Regions from separate parts of the Homo sapiens genome. Here region 1 is linked to region 2. Evidence: promoter capture Hi-C in human tissues and cell types (Jung and others, 2019). All regions are on one chromosome and are shown on one strand. The core of a region is centred on a gene start or on the middle of the fragment in contact, and the rest is flanking DNA. Distances in the headings are between cores, read along the strand shown.

Region 1 (5,904 bases), core at 3,301-5,800, 120 kb after region 2:
ATTATTTAAATCACACAAAAAAAGCGAATGAATGAGAAGCCACTTTCCCCCAGTAGCCATCTCACCTCTAGTCCTGCAGGGCTGAGGGCTCCAAGGCAGAGATCGGGTCACCACTGCATCCCCAGTGCCCCACATATGGGAGGTGCTGAACTAAAGTCATGGGAGAGGCTCCCATCTTCCCAAAGGTCCAGACTCCAGGGACCAACTCCAGTCAAATCTGCGTCACCCACTCTTAAGTGCCTGATGTTAAGCCCAATCATCTTCTATCTTATTGTCCAAATAAGTCCACATGACTATGGTGTGGCTCATGTCTCCCCTTAGCAGGACAGACAGCAAGGGCCACCCACAATGGGCCATAGCTTCTCTGTGGCCATCCAGGGTCCTCACCCTCCGCCCCACCCCCTGCCTCACTGATAACTATATCTGCCGTACACTAATTTTTATTTTGTTTCCAAGAGGCACATCACTGGCCAGGGGTCAGCAACAATCTCCCTGCATTGATCAAGCGGTCATTACAGTGGACTCTGATCATGGGCTTCAAAAGGAGAGGGACCTGCTCATGGTGATTTTTCACTTACAGCCTTCACAGAAGGCATCTGAGGACGAGCCGCAGCCAGGAGGTAGACAGGCTGCCTGTGGAATGCCAGAGCCACCACTTAACTAACAGCAAACTTTGCAGCTTGACTTGGGCCCCAAGCCTCAGTTTCTCCACCTGTAAAATGGAGCTGATCCCAGCTACCCCCATGGACAGCTACAAGGAGCCCCAGTGGGTCTAGCTGACAGCCCCCACCCCCACCCCCACCAGCCCCTACTTCTGCATTGGATCGGAGTATCGTCTAACTCACAGTGCCACTGTGATGACAAAATAAGCTCCCAGAGCTGGGCTCGGGGCAGCCCCGAACACCAGCCCCTCCCCCATGATCTTTGCCTCCTCTCAAGACAGCCTGTGTCACCACTGAGCTCATAATGAGTCAGTCACAGACGCTGCCCTCACACAGCCCACTTCGAGGGTTTGAAGTCACATCCTGCCTAACCCAACTCGACATGATTTATTCCACCCCAGGAAGGTAGCTCATTTCCCAGAATTTTGTTAAGCCCTTTAGTAAAGGAGTCTGATCTGGCAAGGGGCTCCCTTTACAGCCCTGGCTGAACATGCAGCTCAGCTCGGGCCTGGAGGCAGGAACCACCCTAAGTCAGGGCTGCCAGAGGCGCCAGGGCATCTCATCCTTGGGGCCCCAACATTTATCTTAAGCTGTAATTTTTATTTTTTTATTTTATTTTTTTTTGAGACAGAGTCTCACCGTCGCCCAGGCTGGAGTGCAGTGGCACAATCTTGGCTCGCTGCAACCTCCTGGGTTCAAGCAATTCTCCTGCCTCAGCCTCCCAAGTAGCTGGCATTACAGGCATGCACCACCGTACCCAGCTAAATTTTGTATTTTTAGCAGAGACGGAGTTTCACCATGTTGACCAGGCTAGTCTCAAACCCCTGACCTCAAGTGATTTGCCCACCTCAGCCTTCCAAAGTGCTGGGATTACAGGCATGAGCCACCGCACCCGGCCTTTTTTTAAATTTTAATTTAAAAACTTTTTGTCATAAATACAAACATGTCTAACAAAACTGTCACAATGTGACATACACATGCTATTCACTCTGATTCTTTTCCATTCAAGTCTATTTTATTTCATTTCTAAACACACTGGTTGCCCGCCAGGCATGGTGGCTCACGCCTATAATCCAGGCGCTTTGGGAGGCTGAGGCGGACAGATCACCTGAGGTCAGGAGTTCAAGACAGCCTGGCCAACATGGCAAAACCCCGTTTCTACTAAAAATACAAAAATTAGCCAGGCACGGTGGTGGGCACCTGCAATCCCAGCTATTCGGGAGGCTGAGGCAAAAGAATCACTTGAACCTGGGAGGCAGAATTTGCAGTGAGCCAAGATCCTGCCACTGCACTCCAGCCTGGGTGACAGAGCGAGACTCCATCTCAAAAATAAATAAATAAATAAACAAACAAACTGGTTGCCACTCACTTCACGACCCACCGATGAATCTCACTTGAAAGTTCTTGAAAAACACCACCGTGACTTATCTACGCTAGGAAGGAGAGGAACGATCTGCCTAAGATCACATAGCCAGGCCAAGCAGAAACTCAAGTCCAAAGCCAAAGGGAAACTCAGTGAGAGGTGGGGGGTCGGGGGGAGTGTCCCACTCCAGGCAAGTGAGACTCAGCTGTAGCAACCCAATCACCTGACACATTCATCTCGTGGTGTTTACATCATCTGATCCCGCCAGCCTTGGCAAAGTGAAGGGTCACGCGGCCCCTCCCCCTAAAAAAGGAGAGAGCCTCAGAGGCTCAGGGAGGCTAAGTGACTTGCCTAGGTACAGGGTTTCCCGGGAACATCCCTGCCGATGTGCAGGGGCAAGAGCACAAGAACGAAAGAGGAGCCCACCTTCCTCAGCATCCAAGGTAACAAGAGATCAAGTCTGGCATCAGAAACATCACCCCTCCCATCTCCAGGCCCAGCCCCACACTGAAGAGATACCCAGAAGTGACGGTGTTCTAAAGGCTTAAATACAAGAAGGATCATCAGGGAGGGGAAGGCCACTGTGCTGGAGCTACAGTGATGAGCCCCAGGAAAGTGATCACCCCTGGGGTGGCACAACTTAGACTAGAACAAACCCCCATCCTGATCCTAACGGCCCCCAGGCTGCATCCGTTATGCGACACTCACGTGTGCACACTCTACAAATGGAAAACCCAAAGCTTCTATTTGTCTAGGTCAGTGGTCAAGGACCCCTTTGAGAACTTGTGAGAGGTGGTGAACGCCTTGCATACCACGTTAGGGGGCTCGCAGAGACTCTGCAGTGCGGTCCATGGACTTTTAGGAGTCCCCTGGTCACAAGCTCAAAGGTAATGGGGCACTAGTGCGGCCTCCTTTTCTACCAAGGCAACATGAACAAAGACTTGAGGCAGGATCTCTTCCTTCGTCACCCTCCGGAGGGTTAAGCAGGATCTCGCTGAGGAAGCAAAGCTGTGGACAGAATAACCCAATAGCAAGAGTCCACGTGGCACGGGAGGGAGGCCGATTCTCCTGCACTGCTCTGGGGTGCCCTGGACTCCAGGAACAAGAAGCCCAAAACTGAAGGGTGAACGGTCTCTCCTCCCGACATTTCCATCCCTTGCTCCGGTTCTCAAATGAGCAAGCACACAGCCAGCCCTGGACATATAGAAGGCATGGCAGGCAATGCCAAGCTTTCCAGAGAAGCATCCCAGAGCCTCCTGCATTCCCCGGGGGAAATGATCAAATACAAGTGAGGATGAAATCCACTTATTTTGCACTTTACAGAAAAATTAACTTACCGCTCCTAGACTGGGTTGCGGCAGCACCCTTGTCTGAAAGGCTGGCCAACCCCAGTGTCCTTGAGCAGGCAGCCTGGCCGGCAGGATGACCTTACCAAGTCCTTCCCCAGAAACGTGACTACCGCTTACTTTACCACTCACCAAGCAGCACTCCTTTGCCCAGGCCACAGTCTGGTTTGAAAGTGGCCAAAGCTGTGGCTGCACATGAAAGAAGGAAGCAGCAGCGGCCCCTGCTCTAGAGAGCTGCCAGATTTGGGCCAATGCCATCCTGCCCTGGACAGAGCCCCAGGCCCCCTCCTCCCCTCCCCAGTCCAAGATGGGTGCATACAGACTTGCACACACACAGATATGCATGCACACAGACACGTGCAAAGATCTGTGCACACAGAGGTGCAGAGACATGCACACAGAGACCTGTGCAAACAGACATGCACATATACAAACACACACACACACATGCCTGCATACAGACACCCCAGAGGATGCTGGGATATGGCCGAAGTCAGGCCAACCTGGAGGTAAGCGCTGGATTCTCCTCACTGGTTCAGGAAATCCGGCAAATTATTTAAATGTCCTGAACCTCCCTTTCTTCATCTGTACAATGGGAATGAAAAGGCCCACCTCCCAGGACCCTGTTGGTAATTAAATAACGGCCACTTGCACTTTATTCTGAGTGCTTTTCACCAGGAATCTCACTTTAGCACACAGCACTCTTGTGAGGTAGATTCTAGTGGTATCCCGTTTTGCAGATGGGGAAACAAGGCCAGAAGGCTTACTTGCTGAAGGACACACAGGCACTAGCTGCCGGTGTCTGTACCCTGCAGGTCTCACTTGGGGCTCCAGGTCTTCCATCCCTAACCACTCTGCTCCACTGCCTCTAGGGGTGCAATGAGACAGCGAATGCACACAGAGCATCTGGCAAGGCGTCACATAGGACCTGGTCAACAGCAGTTGCTCCGTGATCAGGAAGGAGAAGCGCAGAGGTGGACCCGCAAGCTTTCCAGTAGCCCAGGGCCAAAGCACCAGTATCTGTCCTCCTGTCTGCTACCAATCCCCTCCAGCAGACTCACTTTTAACCCAATTTCTCTAAGATAACAGTGCTGGGAGGTGGAGGAGTGTTATCTCCCCACCCTTACCCCTCCCAGCTGTCTATATCGCCCTAAACAGCCAGGAATTTAATAAGCCTGGAGTTGTCTCTGACTCCCAACCACAACCAATTCGGAATGCCCCAGGTCCTGCAGCACAACAAAGGCTGCCCTGCAAAGCCCGGAAGAGCCTGCGAAGCCTGCCCCGTCCGCGATAGAGCATCACATTCTTCAGATTCTTGTGTAAAAGCCAGAAGTAAGGCAAGGGGGTGGGGGTGGGGGGGCTCTAATTTCAACCTAAGGGTCATTAAAGCCTGTGACCTGTATTAAAAGGGAAGAGACCCACCCCTCTGCAGCCCCTCTGTACCACGCTGGTCCTCCAAGGTGTATGATACTGCACAGGTCAGCACACCCAGGCCTCACAACCAGAAAGCGCCCTCAGCCTAGCGTCCCCACTTTGAGGACATCAAGCCTCCAGGACACACAGCTAGTCAATGGCAGGAGGGATTTTGCCAGACTGATCTTCAGCATCGTACTGGTGGCCACTATCTATTTCTTTCTGTCTAACATAGGTTTAAAGTTCTAGCCAGAGAGTCCACAGAACTAACCCCAGGTAGAGTTCAGGGGAAGACGTTGAGGTGCTGATGGAGACTCGTGAATTCCACAGTGCTCGGCAGCAAGTAATTAATCTCATGATGAGGCGTTTTTCATGAGCATTTGGCATTATATACCCACCTCCCCCTCGCCCTGGCAAAGGCAGGAAACAGTGGGCGGCAGGCCGGCTCTGGGCAGAAGGCGGGCTGAGAACAGCATGCTGGTGGGCTAGGAAGGTACGAGGGGGCGGTATCCATTCTTCAGAGGGAGGACAGCAAAAACCCAGGTTCCCCACAAGGACCAGGCTAACCAGACCTCACACCAGCCTGCCAGCCTTCACCTGCTGTCTACCCGACAGGTCTCTTAGGATGGAACAGGGAGGGCTGTAATTTACAGCTGGTGCCATAAAGCCAACTAGGTAACGCGACCCAGCAACCACCACTGTGAGGCTATGTGTGGAAGTCTACAAAAACCCAATTTCACAACTATTGTCCACATAGTGGTTGAAGTGGGATGAGAAGGCAGGAGAGGCGATGGAAGTAGATATGGAAAATAACTGGCCTGAAAATGAGGAGCTGGGAGAGGATTTTAGATCATTCACTTGCTACCTGGGGCTAGTCACGTAGGTTTTCTTGGACTCTCAACATTCCCAGCTACAAAATAGGAACACTAATACTGCCACCTTCATGGGATTGAGAGACTTTTGTTGCAATAACTTGAAAGTGACTTTAACCTTTGTAACGTGATATAAAAAATAGACTGAAATTTTTAAACAGATAAAAATATATCACCTGGCACTGTGCCAGATAAATTGTGGACAGATAAAACATATAAACAATAAAGCTATACTTTATTAGCATCAA
Region 2 (6,208 bases), core at 2,591-5,090:
TGGGCTCCATGTAGCTTTTAACAATTGAATAAAGTATACTCTTGTGAGCAAAATTTGAAGCATATTTCTTTCTCACTATCTGATTTCTCCAGAATTTGGAAACTATTTGTGAGTATTCTTAGTTCATGGCAATAGAGTTATTTGCATAAGTTCAGTTGGAATCTGTTTTCTTTCATAACAGGACACAACTAGAGACACTGGTTATTTTACCAAGGCTTTGACTGGCATGGCATATTTCCACATGTACGTAGGCTGCTTTGAGTAATGGTGGCTGGCTTATAGAGCCGATGAAAGCCTCTTTGAAAAATTTTCCTCAAACTTTGCCTATACAGTTCCTTTACAGGGTTCCTGTCCTGTGGTAAGTAAAGAATGTCACTTTCTGACAGGCCCAGGAAGCCCAAGTTACCTTGGGACCTTGAGGAGAAAGGAACTCACCTAATATATATAGGCATCTGCAGGCAAATATAAATCACTGGCTGAGCTTGAGATTTTAAAAGGCCTACTCTGAGATATCTTATGAAAAAGAAAATATTGTAGCAAAGTCAATTTCCAAAAGGAGCCCATATGCCAAATAAGTATTCTTGCTGCACTTTATACAAATGATCAGGCCAAGAACCATCAGACTAAAACTTCTGTTGCAAATAAATTAGCCCTACTATGATTTGTCTTTGGTAGAAATACAGGACTAGAGAGAGAAAAGGTATGTTTCAAAAGAAACTAGAGAATGCCTGTTATTGGATTCTAGCTTTCTCCATTGTTTTCTAGCCGTATTGTTTGTCCACAGTTTATCTGGACTACATACTGAATTCTTTCCTGGCCACAAGTCTCCAAACTAATATTTTGCTTTTCTTTTTCTCTCATTTTTCTGACTTGGAATCACCAGAAATCCAAACTGTGCTTTTCTTAAAGTCCTGCAAACTGAAGCTTGAAAACTGTGTTATAGTGAAGGAAGAGAAAGACCCTCTCATATTATTTTTATATTGTTTTGTACTCAGTACCTGTTTTAAGAAAAAACAACAAGGAAGTAAAACCAAAGACAGGCAGCCCGGCGCCAGGCCCGAAACCAGGCCTGGGCCCGCCTGGCCTAAACCCATTAGTTAAAAATCAACTTATGATTCAGAAGCCGATGTTATTCATAGATTCCTTACATTATGTAGAAGAACATTGTGAAACTCCCTGCCCTGTTCTGTTCCCCCCTGACGACCTGTGTATGCAGCCCCTGTCACGTACCGCCTGCTTGCTCAAATCAATCATGACCCTTTCGTGTGAAATCTTTAGTGTTGTGAGCCCTTAAAAGGGACAGAAATTGTGCACTCAGGGAGCTCGGATTTTAAGGCAGTAGCTTGCCGATGCTCCCAGCTGAATAAAGCCCTTCCTTCTACTACTCGGTGTCTGAGAGGTTTTGTCTGCAGCTCGTCCTGCTACAATAGAATTCAGACCAAACTCGTGACCAGAGACTCATTTGCTTCTACAGTGTTTTGTCCAAAAGATGTTGAAGAACGGCCAGGCGCAGTGGCTCACGCCTGTAATCCCAGCGCTTTCGGAGGCCGAGGCAGGCAGATCACAACGCCAAGAGATCGAGACCATGCTGGCCAAGATGGTGAAACGCTGTCTGTACTAAAAATACAAAAATTAGCTGGGCTTGGTGGTGCGTGCCTGTAGTCCCAGCTACTTGGGAGGCTGAGGCAGGAGAATCACTTGAACCCGGGAGGTGGAGGTTGCAGTGAGCCGAGATCACAACACTGCACTCCAGCCTGGCAACAGAGCAAGAATCTGTCAAAAAAAAAAAAAAAAAAAAAGTTGTTGAAGAACAAGGAGAAAACGTGAAAGGAAAATCAAATCTTGGGACCCCAAAACTCACTGGAAACAGTTAAGCTTAGAAACGGAGTCACTCCAAAACCTGCCTTTGTTTTTGCTTCTAAGCAGATATTTGCGAAGACAAAAGGCAACATGTTCCCCAGGTAGCCTCCTTCACAAATTGCTCACAAGGAAACTCCTTGTGGGTCCCAGCAGTTTTTACCCTGAGGCAGACTTTGTGTAATTTCATTGTGACAATGCAAATTAGCAACTTATCTTTACTGGTACATGATAAATAACAAGACTTCTGCCCACCCTCAGAAAAATGCACATATGCCTGCTTCCTCTACTCTATGTTCATTTTTATCTTATATAAAATGTAGACGAACTGTGCATGAGACGAATGAATAATTGACTGTTCCTCTACCCCCTCCTTTCATAGACAACCTGTGGATTCAAGGAGGGCTAATCAAAGCTTCACAAGAATGTGACCACTCACCTCATTACCTATCCTGTCTTTTTTCCTTTCCTCCTTCCACTCCTGCCTGATTTTACACATTTAAATACTGGAGGCCTCAAAACCCTCTGTGAAAAACGAGTGGACCCCAGAACCTCCTGTGACTTGTGTGACTTTTTCCTGGGTGCATCCTCAACCTTGGCAGAGTAAACATCTAAACTGACTGAGACGTGTCCCAGACCCTCTTTGGTTTACAAGTCTTGCCTCCTCCCTGAGTTGCTGGATGAAAGCAACGTCCTCTCTTCTTGCCTCAGTTTCCTCATCTGCAAAATCAGATCATAATCCTGGCCCATTGAGGGGATGATTATAAAACTCAATCAAATGGAGAAGCATTTGCAAATGGAATGTATTGCAAAGTGTATTGTGCAGTCCCTGTGTAATCACCATTCTCTTCCTGCCTCATAAGCTGGTGTGTGTGTGTGTATGGGTGGGGTGAGGTGGACACGATGCCCCCAGAGATGTTTGCTCAGGATGAAATAGGCCCCCATGGAAGGGTCAGGTTGGCTTCTGTGGTTTAGCTGCCTTTGAGGCCCTTCTGCCTGGGGCAAAGCACAAAAGTCCAATAGCAATCTGGTTGCATGACTTCCTAGTCATGGAAGTGTGGCTGAGCAGTGGTCTCTAGTCCCTCCACCCTGTGTGCCTCGGGAGTGGAACACGGGGCAGTGGCCTCTGCTGGGGAGGATGCTGGGGGATCTCTGAAAGGAGGCAATGCCTGATTTTGTCACTGAACGATGAGCATGATTTTTCCAGGCGGTGGAAGCAGGTGCTCCCGGCAGAAGACCCCATATAAGCAAATATCTAGAAGCCACAAGGCATGGCCTTCAACAAGAGCAGGCCTGGTGCGGTGGCTCATGCCAAGGTGGGAGGATCACTTGAGGCCTGGAGTTCAAGAGTAGCCCAGTCAATATAGTGAGGCACCATCTCTAATATAATTTTTTTAAAAATTAGCTGGGTGGTTGGCTGATACCTGTAGAACCAGCTACTCAGGAGGCTGAGGTGGGGGGATGGCTTAAGCCCAGGGGTTTGAAGCTGCTGTGCGCGATGACTGTGGCACTGCAATTCAGTCTTGGTGACAGACTGAGACCCTGTCTCAAAAACATAACCAAAATAACCCCAACGGCATTACAATAAATATACAATAAGCATCCACAAGGCATGTGTGGGAGACTGTGCTTATGCCGATGGCACGGGCAGGAGTAAGGCAGGCATCAGGGGAATGTGGATGCACGGGAGGATGGGGAGTAATCTGCAGGGTCCCATAGTATGTCAGTGGCAGGTCTTTCTCCTTGAGACCACAGCAGACCCCCAGCCCTGAGGATGCGAGGCAGGTGGGTTGGATGAGAGGGATCTGGATGTCTGGTCTCAGGCTGCTCCTCTAAGGGCAGCAGCAAGGAGGGTGGGGCTGGACTGAAGGTGGAGGGGAGCGTGTTTGCTGTGCTTGGTCATGAGCTGCTGGGAAGTTGTGACTTTCACTTTCCCTTTCGAATTCCTCGGTATATCTTGGGGACTGGAGGACCTGTCTGGTTATTATACAGACGCATAACTGGAGGTGGGATCCACACAGCTCAGAACAGCTGGATCTTGCTCAGTCTCTGCCAGGGGAAGATTCCTTGGTAAGTTGGGGACAGTTGACCTGCCTCCATCTTATTCTCACAGCTTTTGTAGATAAGCTGGGAGAGGTTAGGTGACTGGTTCAGATAGACAGGAAAGTAGCGGCAAAGCCTGGATTTGCACCCAGGCTTGAGTCTGATTGCTTCCCCTCTCCTGCTGGGCTCTTAAACTATAGAGGGTTGGGGAAACAGCTCAGATGGGTTCACAAAGCTCCCTGGGCTCAGCCCTGGTTTTGACTGCTGAGACACGACTGAGTGAACCCAGAAGGAAGGTTTGTGTTGGGGGTGCCCATCTCTTTGGGAAATTTGAAGGAACCAAAGAAGGTGGAGGAGAGGAGGTGACCCAGATCCCAGCCTGTTCTTATGGCCAGGCCACACCAAGGCTGGCCCCAGGGTGCTGCTGCTGAGGCCCAATGGGGGCAACAGAATTTTTTTTCAGGTACAAGGAGTTCAGAGGTCATCTCACCCACCCTGAGTCTGAGCACCAACTTGTGCCAGGCCCTGTGGGGAAACTGAGGCCCTGGGAGCGGAATGACTTGCCCAGGGTCCCGTGTCAGGAGGCTGAGCAGGTAGATCATAGGACTCCACGTCTCTGGCCCTCACCTCTGTCCCTCTGTTCAGACTTCTGGGGTGATGGAGAAGAAACAGGCTGTGCTGTGTCCCTAATGGGAAACGTGGCTGAGACAGGGGAGTGAGAAGGGTGCGTTGCAGAATGGTGCCTGTGGCATGATGCCAGCTTTGCAATCATGAGATTCAAAAGCCACACTGTGGAATTGTGAGTATAACTACAGGAGTGAGAGCTTAGATCTCTGTGTTCATAGAAGGAGAATCAAACCTGGAAACTTTTGGATTATTAAAATCAAACATTTTTGCTTCAATATTAGAGTCACAAGGGCAGATGTTGGCCTCCCCTCTGCCCTCCAAGAGCTGTGTGACTCTGGGAAATTCACCTCCCCTCCCAGCCTGAGTATTTTCCCCTGTAAAAAACCTGATAGAGCTGCCAAAAGTCCATGAAATCAGGGGGGTAATTTCTGTGAAATCTGAGTCATGGTCTTATTTGTTCTTCACCAAAAAGAGATGATGAAGCCTGTAACCCCAGTGCTGTGGGAGGCAGAGGCGGGAGGATGACTTGAGGCCAGGAGTTCAAGACAGCCTGGGAAACACAGGAGATGCTGTCTCTATGAAATCAAAAATTAACAAATTAGCCCAGCATGGTAGTGTGTACCTGTAGTCCCAGCTACTCAGAAGGTTGAAGGAGGCGGATCACTTGAGCCCAACAGATCTAGGCTGCAATGAGCTAGGATGGTGTCAAAGCCCTGCAGCCTGGGTGACAGAGCAAAACTGTTTATTAAAAACTAAACGAAAGGCCGGGCGCGGTGGCTCACGCCTGTAATCCCAGCACTTTGGGAGGCCAAGACAGGTGGTCACGAGGTCAGGATATCGAGACCATCCTGGCTAACATGGTGAAACCCTGTCTCTACTAAAAATACAAAAAAATTAGCCGGGTGTCGTGGCGGGCACCTGTAGTCCCAGCTACTCGGGAGGCTGAGGCAGGAGAATGGCGTGAACCCGGGAGGCAGAGCTTGTAGCGAGCCTAGATCGCCCCACTGCACTCCAGCCTGGGTGATAGAGCGAGACTCCATTTCAAAAAAAAAATGAAATGAAAATGGTGATTTCTCAGGAGGAGCACACTGTCTCAACCCCTCTTTTCCTGCTCAAGGAGGAGGCCCTGCAGCGACATGGAGGGAGCTGCTTTGCTGAGAGTCTCTGTCCTCTGCATCTGGTGAGCTTGGCTCAGAGCCCTGAGGCGGGAGGGAGGGCTCCCTGTCTGGGCTGCACAATTGGACTGGGCTTGGGCTGGGCCAGGGCCATCTGGGCTTCTTCTAGGAACCAAAGTCACTTCCCGGAATTGACCAACCGGCAGACTCGCCCAGGGAGGACCCGCTGTATCCTAGTTGAGGCTAACGGTCAATATCCGGCCTCAATATTCAGCAGAGGCTCCAGGTCAGGGTCTGAGCCAGGCCAACAATGACCAAGGAGGATGGGATCCAGGGTGCAGCTCCTCACAAGTGTCGGGGGAATCCGAGGCACCAGCTCTCTCTACCCTCCTGCTCCTCTGCTCTCTCCTGGTCCTCCTGTGTCCTCATGGCTCATGAGATGGTGTTGAGATGGCTCCCCTGGCCTAGGGGATCACACAGTGAACAAAGCAGGAAGAAGGCGAAGGGATGCCCCTCTCCTGTCACCCTTGTCCCTTACAGCAAGAAGGGCCCAGACGCCCCTCTGC

What was found. Contacts are between HindIII fragments. The study calls those that stand out against the background at their distance.
Region 1: a fragment that was not itself captured here is called in contact with the fragment with the promoter of APOL1 in region 2 in 2 of the 25 tissues and cell types used here (aorta and pancreas).

Annotation. Positions count from the first base shown.
Region 1 is chr22:36,364,201-36,370,104 of GRCh38, forward strand. All of the region lies in intron 1 of MYH9 (myosin heavy chain 9), which reads right to left. Among named protein-coding and RNA genes, the nearest start is that of MYH9, 21 kb to the right of the region's middle. RefSeq lists enhancers at 885-974, 985-1,084, 5,071-5,160 and a silencer at 4,464-4,758. The HindIII fragment of the contact is 6,874 bases long and covers 1,114-5,904 here.
Region 2 is chr22:36,249,293-36,255,500 of GRCh38, forward strand. It overlaps APOL1 (apolipoprotein L1), which reads left to right and starts at 3,841. Exons shown (of 6, transcript NM_003661.4): 1 at 3,841-3,927; 2 at 5,645-5,707. The coding sequence starts at 5,664. RefSeq lists enhancers at 3,894-3,953, 5,703-6,202. The HindIII fragment of the contact is 10,399 bases long and covers 2,074-6,208 here.